6 separate regions of the Homo sapiens genome follow, and all the other regions are linked to region 2. The links are contacts of gene promoters, found by promoter capture Hi-C in blood cells and fetal thymus (Javierre and others, 2016). All regions are on one chromosome and are shown on one strand. The core of a region is centred on a gene start or on the middle of the fragment in contact, and the rest is flanking DNA. Distances in the headings are between cores, read along the strand shown.

What was found. The method cuts DNA at HindIII sites, captures the fragments that hold promoters and counts their contacts. A CHiCAGO score of 5 or more calls a contact.
Region 1: a contact is called between a fragment that was not itself captured here and the fragment with the promoter of ADRM1 in region 2, in 3 of 17 cell types (naive B cells, erythroblasts and endothelial precursors). The highest score is 5.6, in naive B cells.
Region 3: a fragment that was not itself captured here is called in contact with the fragment with the promoter of ADRM1 in region 2 in 1 of 17 cell types (neutrophils); the score reaches 10.4 in neutrophils.
Region 4: a fragment that was not itself captured here is called in contact with the fragment with the promoter of ADRM1 in region 2 in 10 of 17 cell types (activated CD4 T cells, neutrophils, naive CD8 T cells and 7 more); the score reaches 7.9 in activated CD4 T cells.
Region 5: a fragment that was not itself captured here is called in contact with the fragment with the promoter of ADRM1 in region 2 in 1 of 17 cell types (neutrophils); the score reaches 6.0 in neutrophils.
Region 6: a contact is called between a fragment that was not itself captured here and the fragment with the promoter of ADRM1 in region 2, in 5 of 17 cell types (M0 macrophages, naive B cells, total B cells and 2 more). The highest score is 8.6, in M0 macrophages.

Annotation. Positions count from the first base shown.
Region 1 is chr20:62,637,767-62,641,065 of GRCh38, reverse strand. It overlaps LOC124904949 (a long non-coding RNA gene), which reads left to right. Exons shown (of 2, transcript XR_007067711.1): 2 at 1-3,299. Among named protein-coding and RNA genes, the nearest start is that of SLCO4A1, 3.1 kb to the left of the region's middle. The HindIII fragment of the contact is 4,159 bases long and covers 1-3,299 here.
Region 2 is chr20:62,301,508-62,304,677 of GRCh38, reverse strand. ADRM1 (ADRM1 26S proteasome ubiquitin receptor) reads right to left here and starts at 1,681. Exons shown (of 10, transcript NM_007002.4): 1 at 1,629-1,681; 2 at 897-1,110; 3 at 101-217. The coding sequence starts at 1,109. RefSeq lists silencers at 1,572-2,031, 2,052-2,171. The HindIII fragment of the contact is 19,122 bases long and covers 1-3,170 here.
Region 3 is chr20:62,036,448-62,039,625 of GRCh38, reverse strand. All of the region lies in intron 1 of TAF4 (TATA-box binding protein associated factor 4), which reads left to right. It also overlaps the pseudogene RPL17P48. Among named protein-coding and RNA genes, the nearest start is that of MIR3195, 27 kb to the left of the region's middle. The HindIII fragment of the contact is 5,228 bases long and covers 1-3,178 here.
Region 4 is chr20:62,014,801-62,017,867 of GRCh38, reverse strand. The region is part of intron 1 of TAF4 (TATA-box binding protein associated factor 4); the gene reads left to right. Among named protein-coding and RNA genes, the nearest start is that of MIR3195, 48 kb to the left of the region's middle. The HindIII fragment of the contact is 7,988 bases long and covers 1-3,067 here.
Region 5 is chr20:61,997,034-62,000,096 of GRCh38, reverse strand. It overlaps TAF4 (TATA-box binding protein associated factor 4), which reads left to right. Exons shown (of 15, transcript NM_003185.4): 12 at 989-1,114; 13 at 1,905-1,961; 14 at 2,428-2,547. Among named protein-coding and RNA genes, the nearest start is that of MIR1257, 45 kb to the right of the region's middle. The HindIII fragment of the contact is 4,890 bases long and covers 1-3,063 here.
Region 6 is chr20:62,783,212-62,786,257 of GRCh38, reverse strand. It overlaps LOC105372716 (a long non-coding RNA gene), which reads left to right. Exons shown (of 4, transcript XR_936986.3): 4 at 2,429-3,040. Among named protein-coding and RNA genes, the nearest start is that of LINC00659, 7.9 kb to the right of the region's middle. The HindIII fragment of the contact is 2,684 bases long and covers 196-2,879 here.

The sequences.
Region 1 (3,299 bases), core at 271-2,770, 340 kb before region 2:
CCTGTGAAGGAAGGGGGCTGAGCTTCGCTGCAGACCTGGCCTCAGGTGTGGATGAGCTTCGCTGCAGACCTGGCCTCAGGTGCGGAGTCTGCGGGAGCAGCATTTCCAGGCAGACCTGACAGAAGGTGCCTTTGAGAGGTGGTGAGCTCCGTGTTACAGGAGGCTTGTGAGCACAGGTAGCCCATCTTCTGGTGATGATGCTGGAGAAGCAATTCAAATGTCAGAAGCAGGACTGGACTCTGTTTCCAAAACTCACGTCTGGATTCTACCCCCTGAAAACATTATTTACACAATGTTTTTCCTTTAAACAATTCACACATTTGATTAAAAGGGTAAGTTTATTTTTTAAAAAGTCAGTGTCAATTACCACAAAGAGGTCACCATAAAAATAGATAAAAAGAAACAAAATGGCATTAAATTCTAGCCAAATATTGCTGCCTGTGGAGGGCTCCCGGCCTGAGACCCGCCTCAGACCCCACCAGGCATTCTTTGGGATTCCTGCATAGGCACCATTGGAAAGGTAAATCCAGAGCAAACATTTCAGGTACATTCGTGCAAAATGCAGGCCCTCAGTCCTGTCCTCAAAGGCAAATGCTGGTGCCCAGGCTCCTCAAGAGGCCCCTAGGAGCACCAGGAGGCCTTGACCCAGGTGAAGGGTCCTGCCGCAGGCCATCAAGGGGGTCTGCAGGTCTGGCCCAACTCCAGGCCCTGCGTGGTGGGGTCCATCTGCACCAGCTTTCGGGAGCCGACTGTGTCCTTACTCTTGCCCTAGAGGACTCGGGGGTCAGCTACAGAGCACAGCAGTGTCTTGGAACAAGGGCAGCCTGATTATGTGCCCTGGAACATTCTGAACTCAATAAGTTCTATCCCAGCAGGGCTTTTTTTCTTTCTTTTCTTTTTTTTTTTTCTTTTTTGAGAGGAAATAATTAAAAGAAAAAGAAAGCGAGAACCCCCTGGCTCCCCTGTGGCCTTGCAGGGTCGTACTGCTGCCTGTCCGGGCGGCTTCAGGAGGCTCGGAACAGATGCTGCACATTTGTGGGCCACTTACTGTTCTCTGACATCATCTTTAGAGGCACCTCAAAGAGCTGAAATGTGACAGCCTGTATTTCCACCTCCCTCTCTCTTTATGGACATTGTCACTTGGAGGAAAATCGATCTAAAGATCAGAAGAGAAGTGTAGAGAGAGAAGAGAGAGAAACGCTGTCAGGTCAAGGGGCAGGTTAATGGCCAACCCAGAAACAGCGTGGGATCCCGGTGCCTCTGCCTGGAGGGTCCAGCCTGGAACACACATCATTCCTAGCTTTGACCAGGAATGGTATCCAAAAAATGACCTCACTTAGCTATTAGTACTTGATTGGGATAATACTTAAAATCCTGCTAATATTTCTGTGGTTGCTTCCATTCTGTAGTCATAGTTCATTTCTATTTTCTATGAATTTGGCGTATGTCTTAGCCAACTCATTTGAAACTGCCTGTCCTTCCTTGACTTATAAAAAAATGGCCATTTCAGCTTCGTGATAATGGGCAAGTCTCAGAAATGATGAAAACATCATTTAATTGTTTCATTATTTCAAAGTCTCAGGCTGTGGCCATGTGGTGGAGGCTCTAGAGAAAGTTTCTAAAAAATATTTTAAAAGTTACGACTGCACTGTTTTGCATGAGAAAGAGGATTTTGCTAAAGATTGAAGGCGATCGGGCTGCAGGCGAAATGTGGCTTGAAGTCCCCAGCTCCAGAGTGGCACGTTTCAGTCTGTTAAATGCTGTGTTCAGGTGAGGAGTTAGGATCATGGTACAACCCAGATGTGGGCTGGCGGCTGGCACACAGCTTAGCAAAGAAGAGACGCACAAGGCCAGAGTGGCCTTAGGAAAAACTCAGCCTGGAGTTGTCCAAATGTCCGCGATGGAGGAGTTTCATGGGGGAATTAAGATTGTCAGGTTAGGGAAGGGCACAGGTAGCTGGGAGGCTCTTTGGTAGCAAAATTCCATAGAAGATAAAAAGCATGTTCTCTCTTGGAAATCATCAGTCCATCCTGTCGGAGCCCCTTTGGAGCAGGGTGTGGCTGGAGGGCCTGGCTTGCTGGCCACGCCTCAGTCACAGCATTGGCTTTCCTGCGCTTCTGCTTCCTGCTCTTCCCGGTGATCTGCGTCCTGCGGGGCGCACAGCAAGCCCTCCGTGGGACGAAGATCTTCGTCTTCCATCCACGCTGCTTTGCTCACCTGCGACATGACCTGAGGCTCTGGCCCTGCTGAGCTGGGCCCTTGGCCAGTGCTGTACAAACGCCATCCACCATCTGGTGACAGCAGCCTAGCAATTGACCAACAGAGGCCTCCCACTGTCCTCCCTCCTGCCGCCCTCCCTCTGCATCTCCCAGAGCAGGACGACTCCAGGGAGACAGACTCAATTCAATCTTTTTCTGTTTCAGAGAATCTGTCACCATTAAAAGCAGCTACCAGGGAATCTGATTCCATTGCACCAGGTCTCAGGTCTCAGGTCTCAGGCGTTCTTCCAAAATGCTGGTGGATGGTGGGCTCTCGCCCTGGGATTATAGATGCCCAGATAAACCATATGTAAATAACACTGCATTTAACCCGCCGACAAAGGGTGGCCTTCTTGACGGTGGTGAAGGAAGTTTTGACCCAGGAGAACAGAGGTCGTCATTCACAAGCACTAGGGTCCGGTGAAAGCACAGGCTTCAGCGTCTGGACAGGCAGCTACATGACGGTATCATGTTCTCTTTAGAAGCCACCAACTGATTCCTGTGTGTTCAGAGCCTGCTGTTAGAGATTAGGTGTGGGGTAGAAAAAATTGGAATCTGGACTTCCCTGCCTGGCGAGATGGCCCTGAGCTCTGAGACATGACCTGAGGACACCTGGAGTGCCCTGAGTTCCAGGGGACACATAGCAGCCAAGTGGGGAAGAGGCCACTGAATGCCGGTGGCTCCGTGGCAAAGGCACATGGAGCTGTAGGAAGAGACATGCTGGGGCCCCCAGCACCTGGAGAGCAGCAGCCCTGTCCACACCTGGGGCCTTGGCTGCCCACAGCCTCTCTAGAAGGGTCATCTGAATTTCACTGGTGATCTGCTTGTGAGGTCTTCTGCATACACTCTTACTTACAAAGAGGCAAACGTCTGCCAGCCCAAGGGCTTCTGGAACTGCCTCGGTCTGCCTGGCTCCTGAGCCTCCCCGCGGGTCTGGGGGTGGAGGTGTTCACAGGGTTCACTTGGCTGAGACCTCACATTCTGGAAGGGCCTCGTGTTAGGTGAGTGATTATCTTAGCTTCCAATACAACTGTGCATGCA
Region 2 (3,170 bases), core at 432-2,931:
GCCTGCTGGTTTATAAAAGCCAATTGCACCACACTGTAAGCAAGTTCCTAACCGAATCGCAGGGCAACAAAAAGGCACAACCCCAAGGCCTGCCCCATACCTGCATCCAGAAGAAAAGCCGCTTGGACCCTGCCTTGAACTTCAGCACGTAGACCCTCCCGCTGGGGCACTGCGGCACCCGCTTGAACTCACAGTCGTCAGGGAAGATGATCAAGTCCTGGCAAGCCAGGGGAAGAGAGAGTCAGTGGCGCAGATGGCATCACTGTGCCCAGTCTCAGGAGAGCGTACTGAGCCCTGGGTCTAACCGGGTGGGGTGCGCAAGGGGCAGCTAAGCCGCCAGACCCCTCGCTGGCAGGGTCTCCACAAGGCAGAGAAGCCAGGGTCAGAGACAGCCCATGAAAGGCAAGGCCGGGGGAGAGAGCAGGGAAAGGGGCCTTTCAGATGGCAACGGGGTTTCTGAGACGTGCTGGAAACAACATTCCCAGAGTAGTTAAAAAGTCAACGCTGAACTGCTCTCAAATGTAACAAAGAACAACTAAGAGTTTGAAAAACAAAGAAGACTGAGTGAAGCCGCCAGGCACAGAGCTCCAGGCTCTCCAGGGCCACACCTCCAACCCCAGGCACCTCACACGGACAGTTCAAGGCCAGGCACAGAGCTCCGGGCTCTCCAGGGCCACACCTCCAACCCAGGCACCTCACACGGACAGTTCAAGATACACAGTGGCCGAGATGCCCCTGTCACCGCGGAAACCAGGACGACCCATCAGCAGGGCAGTCGATGACGGCCCCACGAGCGGTCCCCAGATGCGGCCAAGCCCCCACCGCGAACTCCAAAGCGAGGACTCCGAGGGCCCGAGAAGTCGCCTGTCCTGCTGCTGCGGCTCAGGGACACTCACGTCTTCCACGTTCCCGGACGTCCTGTCCTTCCAGCAGAAGTGAATAAGCGAGTCGTCCGTCTGCTGAATGTACACCAGCCCTTTCCGCTTATCCGGAGTCACGGTGGTCCCCTTCAGGGACATCTTTCCCGCCCGAAACTCCACCAAGTACTTGTTGGAGGCGCCCCGAGAGCCTGGCACCAGGCTTGGAAAGAGCGCGCCTGAGGTCGTCATCCTGAAAGCGCGGAGAGGACGCTGAGACGCGGCGGTCACTGTCGCCTGCGGTCCGGCAAGCTCCCGCCCCCTGGGGTGTTTGCGAGCAGGGGGCCTGCGCCCAGAGCTGCCTAAGGCAGACTCAGACACGCCGGGCTGCCTTTCCGCGTTTGCCCCGCTCACGACGATCGCACCGCCCGCACTCGGCGCTGGGCCGGGGCAGCCCCGCCAAGCCTAGTGGGGCCGGCCCTAGGCTTGACGCCGTCTCCGCGGGGCACCAGCCTCGACGCGCCACCCCGGCGACCCGCTCCGCGGGGCAGACCCGCCCGAGCTCCCGCCGAGCCCCACGTTCAGAGCCGCAGGCGGAACCGGGGCGGCGCCCGAGACCCCAGAACCCCCGCCCGGCCCGGCCCCCGCAGGCCCCACCCGCCGCGCCGGCCACCTTCTCGTCTTGGCTGCCCCCGCCCCATCCTTGGTCCAGCAGCCCCTGCCCCCGCCTCCGGTCGCCCCCGGCCGCCCCAGGCCCGGCGACTCCCGCACCTGCCTCGCGCCCACACTCGTTCGAGAGGCGCCGTCCGGGCTCGCTCTTCCTCCTCGGCGCCTGCCGGGCCCCGCCGGAAACCCGCGTTCGGCCCGCCCCGCCTGCCGCTCTCGCCGCCGATTGAGCCCCGTAAGCCGCGCAGCCGGCTCTAACCTGCCAACGATTGGCGAGGGCGACCGTCCATCGCACTCGCTCCTCCCCGGTCCGCCCCCGCGCCGGCGGCTCTTTTCCGGCGGAAGCGCGGGCCGCAGGGCGCTTGGACCAGAGCGGCCCCTATTGTTGCTGTGTCATAGGGGAGCGGCGGCGGCCCCTAGAGGCGGCGCCAGGGACCACAGGCGGGTTTCAGAGGGGCGCTGGGGAACTGCTCAGGTGGGGCCGAGCCCACCCCTCGGCGTCGCCCGCCCGGGCGGGCAGAGCTGTCACTCGTGTGGCTGAGCCAGGGGTTAGGCGGAGGCCGAGGAGTGCGGTCCGGCTGTGGGCGGCGGGCACCAGGGCTACGCATAGAAGTGACCATGGGTTCAGCGCTTTGGGGACCCAGGCGGGAGCTGGAGTCCACGCGTCCGGGAGAGCAGGGGTCCGGGAGGGTAGAGCGAGGGTGAGAACCGTGATATGGTCTCAGCTGTATACATCTAGTCCCGCAGGGGTCCGGGAGGGCAGGGGTCAGGAAGGGGTGGGTCCGGGAGGAGAGGGGTCCCGAGAGGGGAGGGGCTCCTGGAGGGGAGGGATCTGGGAGGGGTGAGTCCGGGAGGGGAGGGGTTCCCGGAGGGGAGGGGGCCCGGGAGGGGAGAGGGTCCCGGAGGGGAGGGATCTGGGAGGGGTGAGTCCGGGAGGGAGGAGTCAGGGAAGGCCTGAGTCCCAGACGGGTAGGGTCCTGGAAGGGAGGGGTCCTGGAGGGCAGGGGCTCACCCTCTGGACGCCTGGATGGGAAAGGCCACAGGGTAAAAAGGCGGCAGTCGCCCGCCAGTGTTGTGTAACTTTGAGTCACTTTGACACAAACTAAAGCGAAGACAACAGATAGTGTTTGTGGCGCCCCAGCCGGCTGCTGAAGGGACACGTTCTTTGGGATTTGCCTACAGCGACGCCAGGCGGGGGCTCTTAGAGGGCTCAGGCGCGGTGGCTCACGCCTGTAAACCCAGAACTTTGGGAGGCCGAGGCGGGCGGATTACTTGAGGCCAGGAGTTCAAGACCAGCCTGGGCAACATGGTGAATGAAACCCCGACTCTACTAAAAATGCAAAAATTAGCCAGGTATGCTGGCACATGCCTGTAATTCCATCTACTCAGGAGGCTGATGCACGAGAATCGCCTGAACCCGGGAGGTGGAGGTTGCAGTGAGCCGAGATTGCACCACTGCACTCCAGCCTGGGCGACAGAGGAAGACTCCTTCTCAAAAAAAAAAAATAATAATAATAATAGTAATAAAATAGAGAGGTCAGGCGCTTCGTGAGAACCCTGAGGTGCAGTGGCCTCTGCACCCCAGTTAAGCAAGACTAGATGTTTGCAGCTGAGACTGTGCCAGGGTCCTCAGGTTCTCCTTTGCCC
Region 3 (3,178 bases), core at 87-2,586, 260 kb after region 2:
TTTTGTGCCTTCTTAAATAAATCCAGTGTATCATTTTAAGAATTCGTCCTGTGCCTTCTTAAATAAATCCAGTGAGTCATTTTAAGAATTCATCTTGTGCCTTCTTAAATAAATTTTTGCCTAACCCAAGGTACAGGAGTTTTCTAGAATGCTTATGGCTTTAGCTCTTACTCAACCCAATTCAAGTTAATTTTGGGAGAGTTGTAAGGTAGGGGGTTGAGACTCATTTTTTCTGTGGTTACCAATCATGCCAGCCTTATGTGTTGAGGAGACCTTCCTTTCTCTATTGAACGATGCTGCTGCCTTTATTGAAACTCAGTCGGCCACGTGTGAGGACGTCACTTCTGGGATGTGTTCTGTCCACTCATGTCCTTGTCTTCCCTTCTGCAGCTCAGCACTTTCCAGCCCATTTAGAGGGAGTGTTGATGGGTGGCAGGAGTCCTCCAGTGCTGCTTTTTCGAAAACGTTGAGGGCTGTTCTGGTCGTTTGCATTCATGTGTTTCAGAATCAGTTCGTCAACTTCTACAAAAAAAGCCTCTTGATACCTTGATAGCTTTTTGTTTGTTTTGAGACGGAATTTTTCACTCTTTCACATCTTTTCCTGGAGTGCAGTGGCACGATCTTGGCTCACTGCAAGCTCCGACTCCCGGGTTCAAGTGAGTCTCCTGCCTCAGCCTCCCGAGTAGCTGGGATTACAGGCACGTGCCACCACACCCGGCTAATTTTTGTATTTTTAGTAGAGATAGGGTTTTGCCGTGTTGGCCAGGCTGGTCTTGAATTCCTGACCTCAGGTGATCCGCCTGCCTCAGCCTCTCAAAGTGCTGGGATTACAGGTGTGAGCCACTGGGCCTGGCCAATACCTTGATATCTTGCTTGGGATTGTATTGAGTCTATAGATCGGTTTTATGATCATTGATATCTTAGCAATATCGAGTGTTCTGATTCACGAACGTGTTGTACCTCTTCATTGATTTAGGCCTTTCAGGATTTTTCTCAGGGTTGTTTCAAGTTCTCAGTGTTTGTATCCTGAACATACTTTGTTAAATTTATTCTTAAGTATTCATATTTTATGCCATGTACGTGGTCCTTTAAAAAATTTTGTTTCCAATTGTTGCCAGTATTTAGAAAAACAATTGCTTTTGGCCGGGCGCGGTGGGTCAGTGGCTCGGTGGCTCAGTGGCTCATACCTGTAATCCTAGCACTTTGGGAGGCTGAGGCGGGCGGATCATGAGGTCAGGAGATTGAGACCATCCTGGCTAACACTGTGAAACCCTGTCTCTACTAAAAATACAAAAAATTAGCTGGGCATGGTGGCACACGCCTGTAGTCCCAGCACTTTGGGAGGCCGAAGCTGGTGGATCACGAGGTCAGGAGATCGACACCATCCTGGCTAACACTGTGAAACCCTGTCTCTAGTAAAAATACAAAAAATTAGCCGGGCGTAGTGGTGGGCTCCTGTAGTCCCAGCCACCTGGAGGCTGAGGCAGGAGAATGGCATGAACCTGGGAGGCGGAGCTTGCTGTGAGCCGAGATCGCGCCACTGCACTCCAGCCTGGGCGACAGAGTGAGACTCCGTCTCAAAAAACCAAAAAAAAAACAACAAAAAAATTGCTTTTAAAAATAGTGACTTTATAGCTCTTCCCCAAGCGGCCTGAGATGATCTGTGAAAATGGTTCATTAGTCACTTGACCCAGAAATCCCCACAAAATCGTGCAAATCCAGAGGTTCAGGTCTTCTTGATCACTTTAAGAACGCTCGTGAAACTGCCCAGGCCATCAAGGGTATGCATACGTGAGAAGTCACCAAGTGTCTGAAAGACGTCCCTTTATAGAAACAGTGTATGCCATTCCGACTTGGCAGGGGTGGAGCTGGCAGGTGTACCTAGGCCAAACAGTGGGGCTGGACACAGGGTTGGTGACCCGAAAAGAGCGCTGAATTTTTGCTGCACACAATTAAAAATGTGGAGAGTCACACTGAATGTGAGGGTGTAGATGTAGGCTCTCTGGTGTTTGAGCACCCAGGATGCGCTGTGGGACTTCCAGGGCTGGTGGTCGGGTTCATCCATACAGGGCGCCCCGTCACATTGAGACGATCCTCACGGTAAAGACACTTGTTCCCAAGCCAGGTGAGGAAGTTGCACAGAGGAAAACTGTACCAGAAGAAACTGAAGAAACAAAAACTTGTGGCATGGGAATAAACTCAGCATACAATAAATGCAATTAAAATAAAAAAAATTGACTTTATATCCTGTGGATTTCTTAGGATTTTCTTCAAAGATAGGCGTGATCTGCAGTAAAGAGTGGTTCATGTCTTTTTTTCTGGTCTGTGCACCTTTTATTTCTTGTTCTTGTCTCATTGCACTGGCCACAACCTCCAGTGTAATATGACAAACAGAAGCGTTGAGAAGGGACATTTTGCCTTGTTTCTGATCTTGGGGGAGGCAGTCTGTCTTCTCTCATGACGCACATGATGTCAGCTGCAGGTTTTTCATAGAGGCCCTGTGTTAGGTTGAGGAATCCCCTTCTGTCATAGGCCATTCTGGCTGCTGTAACAAAATACCATAGACTGGGAGGCTTCTAGACACCGGAAATTCATTTCTCACAGTCCTGGGAAGTGCAAGATTGCCATGCTGGTGAGGGCCTGCTGCCTGCTCCCATGCAGCTTCTTGTGTGTCCTCAGAGTGTGGAAGGAAGGGGCAAGGCAGCTGTGGGACAGGCTCTTTCATAAGGGCGCTAATCCGGTTAATGAGGGCTGGGCCCCCAAAGTCCCCCCGCTTCTGCTACCATCACCTTGGGGATTGGGTTTCAGCATATGAATTGTGATGGCATTCAGTCTATGCACCTTCTTTTCCTAGTTTGGTGAGAATTTTTGTCGTGAGTGGATGTTTATTTTTGTTAAAATGCTTTTCTTCCTGTATTGGGATGCTTGTATGGTTTTTCTTTTTTAGTCTGTTAACATGGTGAATTACACTGATTTAATTTTGAGTGTTAAACCCTGGCGAGTTCCTAGCATAACCCCTGTTGGTCACATGTATTATCCTTTTTATATACAGTTGCATGCAGTTTGCTACAGTTTGGTGTGTAGGTTCAGGAGGGATACTGGCCTGTCATTTCCTTGCAGTTTGTCTTGCAGTACTGCATGAGTAATGTTAGTTGCAACAGTTCACTTGCCTCCCAGC
Region 4 (3,067 bases), core at 62-2,561, 290 kb after region 2:
ATATATCTGGATACTTTTTTTTTTCTTTTTTTTTGAGGTGGACTCTTGCTCTGTCGTCCAGGCTGGAGTGCAGTGGTGCAATCTCGGCTCACTGCAACCTCCGCCTCCCAGGTTCAAGCGATTCTGCTTCAGCTTCTGAAGTAGCTGGATTACAGGCATGCACCACCACACCTGGCTAATTTTTTGGATGCAATTTTTTTAAATTATTATTTTAATTTTTTGAGACGGAGTCTCGCTCTGTCGCCTAGACTGGAGTGCAGCGGCACGATCTCAGCTCACTGCAAGCTCTGCCTCCCAGGTTAATGCCATTCTCCTGCCTCAGCCTCCCAAGTAGCTGGGACTACAGGGGCCCGCCACCATGCCTGGCTAATTTTTTTTTTTTTTTGTATTTTTAGTAGAGATGGGGTTTCACCGTGTTAGCCAGGATGGTCTCTATCTCCTGACCTCGTGATCTACCCGCCTTGGCCTCCCAAAGTGCTGGGATTACAGGCGTGAGCCACCGTGCCTGGCCTTGGATGCAATTTTTTAAAGCACAAAGCTCCTGATAATTAAAGTCTCTTCACTCACTATGAGAATGTCAGGTTTGACATTGGGTGTGGAGGCACTGGGACGGACACTGAAGCCTCCTTTGTCCTGTTTCCGTCCCATTCCCATGTGTGCACTTAAGTCTGCGTCCATTATTGGCTTCTCAGAATTCCTTAAAAACATTTTTTTTTTTTGTTTTTAGGAGATGGGGTCTCACTCTGTGGTCCAGGCTGGAGTGTGATGATGCGATGGTAGCCCACTGCAGCTTCCAGCTCCTGGACTCAGATGATCCTCCCACCCTAGCCTCCCAAGTAGCTGGAACTACAGGTGTGCCACCACGCCTGGCTAATTAAAAAAAAATTTTTTTTTTGCAAAGATGGGGTCTCACTATATTGCCCAGTCTGGTCTCGAACCAGCCTCAAGTGATCCCTCCATCTTGGCCTCCTAAAGTGCTGGATTTCAGGTGTGAGCCACCACACTCACCCTGGCTTCTCAGAATTCTTGAGGAGGAGGAGCAAGGTGTCTCCGAATGCAGTGAATGAAGTGTTGGGTTTGAGGACATTGTATTAGCGTACTCTAAAGGGACAGAACTAATAGGAGAGATGAATCTATGAAGGGGAGTTTATTAGGAGAATTGACTCTCAGGATCACAAGGTGAAGTCCCTCAATAGGCTGTGTGCACCTGAGGAGCCCGGAAGCCAGTCTGAGTCCCCAGATCTCAAAAGTAGGGAAGCCGACAGTGCAGCCTTCAGTCTGTGGCCAAAGGCCTGAGAACCCCTGGCAAACCACTGGTGTAAGGCCAGGAGTCTAAAAGCTGAAGAACTTGGAGTCTGAAGTTCCAGGGCAGGAAGCATCCAGCTCTGGAGAAAGATGGAGGCCGGAGGACTCAGCCAGTCCAGTCCTTCCACGTTCCTCTGCCTGCTTTATTCTAGCCACGCTGGCAGCTGATTAGATGGTGCCCAGCCACATTGACGCTGGGTCTGCCTCTTCCAGTCCGCTGACTCAAATGTTAACCTTCTTTGGCAACACCCTCACAAACACACCCAGGAACAATACTTTGCATTCTTCAATCAAGTTGACACTCCATAATAACCACATACATGGGGGTATTTACCAGGTGTCTTGTTTTGGGGTCCCCAGGCGCCGAGTGTGCTTGGGTGAGAGTGGAACTCTCCCTCGTTACGCGCAGCAGCTCTGGCGGCCACATGGCTGATGAGTGCCCACCTGGCTTTGAAGGCTGTCCTTGGGCACTGTGGGCACAGACTCGGAGACGGAGCCTTGGAGGCCTTTCCTGTTACTTCGTTCCCGAGCTCCAGGCTTGGAGATTCCAGCAGGTTATTTGCTGCAGCTGGGTGTTTGGTTTTTGTTTGATTTCAGCATGGTTTATTTTGAAAGGGGCGTTTTGGGGGGAAGTTTTCTTAATGGGCATAAATGTGGCTTTTTGGATCAAGAATTTTAGATGTTAGCCCAGGAGAGGCATCACCATTATTCTTGATACCATGCTGAGTTTCGAAAGAGCTGGAGCCGACAGCCCTGAGAGTGCCCCAGCGTCATAGCGCAGGAGGAGGAAGCCCCACGCTCATTTGTCATCATGACCAACAGGAGGTTTTCAGGCCTTACTTCATCTTTTTCGAGGTTATCATTTCCCATTCTCCATAAAGGGGAGGAAGGAGAGGCTGGGAAACGCAGTGGCCGCCCCCTGTGCCCCGTGGCTTGGCCAGTGTGTGATGGGTGGTGGGGACGGCCGGTGGCGGTGCCTCATTGCACGTGTGTTTAGTTTCTCAGCTCCTTGGTGCTGGGCTGTCTGCCGAGGCTTCACTCGGGAAAGAGTGCAGTGTTTATAGCCCTGCTCCCACGGCTGCATCCCCACCTCTGTCATGGGAAGTTAAATTTAAAAGTTGGACAATTGTGTTGCTGTTTCTAATGGAATTTATGATATAACTGGTTGCTGTTTTTTGAAGCTAACATTAATGCCAAACCTGAATGGCAGGATTTGCTTTCCTGTGGTTTAGCTCAAGAACCATGACGGGCAAATGGTTCTCCTGTCCTAAGGGTTGCGTCGCATCTGCGCCTGTGTTGTGGTTGTCAGGGCAGTGTGGGGGCAGCACTGCCCTGCCTCCCGAGAGGAGGGTTCTGGTGAGGAGCCTCGTGGCCCACCCTCCCTCTGTTGGGTCTGGGTGTCACAGGACAGCAGGCTGGGAGACCCTGGAGTATGGGCCGTAGACATGGTTGTGCCCTCTAGGCCCAGCCCAGCGGACGTGGCCCTGGCACAGGCAGGAGGTGGGGGCAAGGAGACTGGCATGTCTGTGGGGTGTATGGGCTGGTTGGGGGCATGGGGGCACGTGGTGTGGCCGGTGGAAGCCATTGCTACACTGCCTTGCTGTCCAGCTCATTCATAAAAGGAAGGCTCAGGTGCCATTTTTTTTCCATGGCCTTTTAACAACCTTTACAGTTTTTTTGTCTTGTATACCATCTTGACTCACAAGTGTGTTTTGAGTTTGGGGGATTCGTGTGTTTAAGACTTGATTTCCTTTGTTTCCTT
Region 5 (3,063 bases), core at 248-2,747, 300 kb after region 2:
TCTTTATGTTGTTGGCCCCCACTCTCTGCTGGCTGGGAGCCTCCTCCCCACACCGAGGCAGAGGGCGGTGGGTCCCAAGTGCCTCCATGTTCCTTACGAACGTGTTTTGGATTTCTTATAGGACTAGATTTTGGAAAGATTTCTTTTTGAGGTAGGGTCTCACTCTGTTGCCCAGGCTGGAGTTCAGTGGCGCAGTCTTGGCTCACTGCAGCCTCCGCCTCGTGGGTTCAAGCGATTCTTGTGCCTTCGCCTCCCAAGTAGCTGGGATTACAGGCGCACACCACCGTGCCCAACTAATTTTTGTATTTTTAATAAAAGGGACAGGGACTCGCGATGTAGCCCAGGCTGGTCCTAAACTCCTTGCCTCAAGTGATCCTCCTGACTTGGCCTCCTTAAATGCTGGGATTACAGGCATGAGCCTCTATGCCTGGCGGGTTTACCTTTTGGAAGGCACCTGCCTCTCTCTCTGGGCCATGGGCTGAACTGGCAGACCCTGAGGTGCCGCAGCCCTATTCTCATGAAGCAGCTCTTCCAAGTAAAACGTGCCTTCCTCACCAGCAGTCACATATGAACACTCTTCCAAGGGCACACTGGGTGAGGTGGTGCCTGCTGCCACAGCCGGGAGGCAGTGCCTTCAGGGCAGCACTGAAATAAACACACTTAGCCCTTGCTGTAAAAGTAGTTCTGTGTTGCAGCAAAAAAGGTAAATGTTACTTTAAGAAATCTGACAGCATCAAAGTGTATAAAAGGGACACTCTCCCACAAGTGTGCCCCTGAGACAGCCAACACGAGACTTCGTTCTGTGGACGTGAGCATCGATAGAGCTCTCGGGCGCAGCATTTGCAGGGTGGGAGGGATCGGGTCCTCGCCGCATTCAGACTGGACGGAGGGAGGGCGTTGTGCACGGATGGTCCAGTGGTGCTAGACAACCCCTTTGCTTGCTGGGCTCTCAGATTTATGACAAGCAGTATTTTAACTTTCTTCATAGGATGACGACAGATATGAGCAGGCGAGTGACGTCCGGGCACAGCTCAAGTTTTTTGAACAGCTTGATCAAATCGAAAAGCAGAGGAAGGATGAGCAGGAGCGGGAGATCCTGATGAGGGCAGCAAAGGCGAGTGCTGGGTGTCTGCTGCTGCCGTCTGGGCACCTCCGTCTCAGCCACAACCTGATGAGCTCACTGAGACAGTGGGGTTTTGGGTGGTCAGAGCATGTTTTGGGCTGGCCTTGAAGCAAAGGTGATGGGTGCTGTCAGTGGAGCTGCAAAGAGAAGCCTCATTCATTTGGCACTAGCGTAGATGCTTGAAAAGCGGGGCTTCTTAAGATTCCCAGCACCTCACGCTCCACACAGTCACACCCAGGTGTGAAGCACATGTTCCTAGAGCCCCCTGTGTGCGCTGGACTGGACTCTTCACACTCACGTTGTCCTTGTTCTAGAACATTCACAGCCAGGCGAGGCACTGCTCATTAATAGAATCAGACAGGAGACCACAGTTCCCCAGGGACGGGGGTGGGTACTGTGGAGTGGGAGGAGCACTTGCTTTGATCACAGCCACAGGCTGTCCCGTCCCTGGTGTGTGGGACAGGACAGCAAGGAGCCTATGAGGCCCATTCTGCCTGCCATCATGCGGTCACATCAGGTCAAGTCAGAGCCTGCGATTGGTAGATGTGTTTCAAAGACTGTATCTTACATCCAAATGTTACTGACTTTTCTCAAGATTACTGGCTTTTTTCATGGTGTGTGATGTAAATTTTCATCTTTGGCTATAAGCATTTCACAAATTTGCTATGCATTCTTTAACATTACCTAGATGTTATTGTATAGTAAATAAGATAACACATTTGTTAAATGATAAACATTTAGTTCATAACTTACTTTTCTTTTCTGCCTCTTTCAAAAATAGTCTCGGTCAAGACAAGAAGATCCAGAACAGTTAAGGCTGAAACAGAAGGCAAAGGAGGTGAGCCCTGTTAGTCGTGAGTGCTCGTGGGCACTTTGCTGTGCACTGTAGCGCCCCACGGGAGGGGGGCTAAGGAAACCGTGGCACTTCTGTACGATAGGCATTTGCGTGTCTGTTTAAAATGTTTGCCAAGTTTAAATAAATACAACATCAGAGGTATTTTCCTGTGCAAACAGTTGGTGTCCTACTTTTAAATTCAACGGTGACTTCCCTTTGCGGGGGGCATTAGTCTCTGTGCTTTTGACTTGCGTATATTTTCTGAGAGTTTTAAGACAAACATCTGTTGCATTAAAAAAAATCTTATTTTTTGGATTATAGAATATGCTTACTATTGAGAAAGTCAAAACATTAAAGAAGTTATGATTTAGAAAACTACAGAAAACCCTTTCATATCTATGTATTACTTTTGTAGTAAGTAAAAAACATGCAAGAAATGATGCTCCTTGTCTCCTTTTCAAAATAAAAGATGCAGCAACAGGAACTGGCACAAATGAGACAGCGGGACGCCAACCTCACAGCACTAGCAGCGATCGGGCCCAGGAAAAAGAGGAAAGTGGACTGTCCGGGGCCGGGCTCAGGAGCAGAGGTACGGCAGTGTTGTGGGATCGAGGTCCTGGGGGAAACATGGGGAACATCTTAGAGCCACCCTCTTCTAGGGGACGGACACACATAGGGGAATTTGCTTTCTTACCATTTACATTTTGTCTCACCTTTTCTGGAGTATTTGTTTTACGTTTGACATTTTAAATCCAAATCAGCTTATTTGTGGCTATCACTTGAGCTGAAAGTCTTTTTCGTGAGGAAGTTTGATTACTGTGATGAGGTTTAGGCTGGATTTGAAAAGGATGTGGGGAAGTTATAACTGTCAGAAGAATGATCCGAATAGGGATCTTGCTGATTGTGCTTCCTGCACAGTGTCTGTGGGATAAGCTGCTGTAGGAGAATGGACAGTTCGTGGAATGAAGGGGAAGAATTGCTGCCCGCTGCTGTTTCTCCAAATTCCATTAGTTTCTCGTCTATGTTTGTGGTTGTATCTTTTAGTCTAATAATTATAAACCCAGCCTTGACATGTTATTTTTGCTTTCAACTGTCAGTTGTTTTT
Region 6 (3,046 bases), core at 288-2,787, 480 kb before region 2:
TGTTTCCCTGAAGTTTCTGGTGATTGAGCTCCTGGGAAGTGAGGCTGGTTTTTGCTTGGCTACCTCAGGGCCTCAGCAAAGCCTGGAGGGGCTTGGCGGCTGGTGGAAAGGGGCCTTTTAAGCCGCTTCCTCTGGGACTCACGGCTGCGCTCTCCTGGTGGGGCCGTCGCAGGCTGAGCGTGACAGGCAGAAGCTTCTGCCCAGAGTCTCTGGGTCTGTGATGGTTGACAAGCCCCACAGGGCCCCTTTCTCTTCCCCTGGAATAGTGGGGTTGTGTGTGGGTCTCCACCCAGGCCCAGGGGTGCAGGGGCCCTCACAGGGCACAGGGGTCCTCGGGGGGCGTAGGGGTCCTCAGGGGGTGCAGAGGCCCTCGCAGCACTTGCTGTTCTTCCAGGTCTGGGCAAGAGGCCCCGCCGCGTTCCCTTAATTCTCAGGTCTTTGGAGTGAATGCCTAAGGCCTCCAAGCCCCGGGTCTCCTCTGTATCAGGCGCTCACGCTGTGGGAGCTGCTTTCTCTCTGCTCCACTTCTACAGAGAAAGAAAATCACAAGCATTTCCCACACTTCCCCCAAGCCTTGACGTATCACAGTTCACTCATGGAGTTGTCAACAGACACAGGCACACACAGACCAGACTGTGGGCTCGGGAGGCGGGAACAAACCCCTCCTTCAGGAGACCTGGCAGCAGGCCAGGGGGCGCCCCAGGGCCCACCCAGCGCAGGGGCAGGCAGCCGCTCCCTCCTGCCCCTCGCCTGCTCCAGCTGTGGGCACTGGGGGCTGCCCCTGGCCCACCCCGCCCTTCATCCCCTCACCTCTGCCTCACCCCATGCTCCATCCCTCCCATGTCTCACCCATCCCACCCTACCCTCACCCACCTCCACCCGCCCATCAATTCCCCCACCTCTGCCTCACCCCACCCTCCATCTCCCCACCCGGTCCCACCCAGCCCCATCCCACCTTCCATCCCCCACTCCACCCCATGCTACCCCACCCTCCATCCCCCACCTCTGTCCCACCCACCCCATTCCCCTCACCCTTGTGCCCCGACTCTCCAGCCCCATCCCTCCTCCACCCAGGTTATCCTTCCTGCGGTACTTGGTGTGTTTCAGTCTTTAGTAAATTTAAAATAAAATGTGGAATTTTCCCTTCGTAACTGTTGAATCTGGATGCTGTGCACACAGGTGCATGCGATACTAGTCTCTCGACTTTTCTGTCTGACGTTTTTCATAATACAAAGTTGAAGAATATAAACAGCTGTCTCTATGCTGATGGAAACGATTATTACAAAAACTGAGCCAGTCATCGCGCACACAGCAAAAACACTCTGGGATAAAAGAGTCCCTGCTGAAAAGTATCCCCCACCAAGGCTGCCTCCGTTAGGAGAGCTGAATCCCTGCCCCGGGAGGCCTGGGTTTCTGCCATTCCCTAATCAAAAACCAAACAGGTGGAATCCGGCCTCCCCACACTTGCCTCCCTCCCTCGCAGCGTGGCCCGTCCTAGAGGCCAGGCTGTGTTGGCCCCTGGAGATCTGGCCCGGTTAGCACAGTTCTGCTGGGTGCAGGTGCGGTGCCCAGAGCCGTGCTCACGCGGCTGAGAGAGAGGCAGGGGAGAGCCTGAGGCAAGGGAGTCCTTGCTGGGTTGGGAGCTTGAGGAAGGCGGCCCCACCCGAGTGGCCACTGCCAGATACGCTGCCCTCTGCAAGGGGCTTCCTTGGCTTTCGGGCAGGTGATGCCCTAGGATCAGCTGCTGCTGATGCCAGCGGGTGTTGGTGGGGAGCACCCAGCTCGTCACCCCTGGGTGGGAGGCTTATACACCCCTCTTGAGGGCCCTGGAGGGGCTGAGCCCCAGCAGCCCCAAGTGTCACCTCTCTTCTTCCTGCACCTACTTGTGGAGTGTGGCCTGGGGAACACTGGGCCCACCGCTTCTCTCTGAACAGCCACCTCTGTGGGATCGGGGGCTCCAATAGTGGCCAGGTTAGGCACTTAGCAGACTGTGGGCAGGGGTCCAGGAAACCCCACAGCGGGAGCGAGGAATCTGACTTTGCAGCGAGGAGGACGCAGCGGCCAGGATGTTGGGCCAGGCCAGTTCCTTTTGATTTTATTTATTTTTGAGATGCAGTCTCACTCTGTCGCCCAGGCTGGAGTGCAGGGGCGCGATGATCTCGGCTCACTGCAACCTCCACCTCCTGGGTTCAAGTGATTCTCCTGCCTCAGCCTCCCAAGTAGCTGGGATTACAGACACCTGCCACCACACCGAGCTAATTGTTGTATTTTTAATAGAGACAGGGTTTCACCATACTGGCCAGGCTGGTCTTGAACTCCTAAACTCAAGTGATCTGCCCACCTCGGTCTCCCAAAGTGCTGGGATTACAAATGTGAGCCACCGCGCCCAGCGTCTTTTGTGATTTTTGACACAACTTTCTTATTTCAGGAATTGGGATCCTGACACATCCACCAAAGAGCCTTTGAGTACTTCGAAATCACTTGGAACAGGTTCCTGCAAAGCAAACCCTTCTGGGCTTGAGGAGGAAATGGACCCGGAACATTCAGCCCATCTGAGCACAAACTTTCTGTTGACCTGAGAGGCTGAGGCCTTCCTGTTCCCCACTCAGACCCAGGAGGCAGCCTGCCCAGGGGGAGCCGGGGCATGGCCTACGAGCTCCTGGAGTCAGGCAGCTCCTGAGGGGCCGGATGGTCTTGGGCTGGCCAAGCCAGCCTCTGTCGTCCTGTGGATGGTGGGGCCTTGTGTACGCATAGCCTCTGCACAGGGGCACACTGTGGGTGTTTGGACGGACAGTGTCTCAAAAACCCAATTCAGGGCTTGACAGCAGATTTGTCCTCCACTCCATGTGCATATGAGCAAGGAGAGTTAATGCAAAGCTTTCTTCATAGCAGAAGGTTGAAAACAATGTACCTTTCTATCAGCAGAGCAGGCAAGGGGGATACTGTGTGTTTCCCACTGCTGCTGGGACAAATTATAACAAATGTAGCAGCGTAAACCAACGTCCATTTTTCATCTCATGCTCTGGAGGTCAGAGGTTCTCGCGGG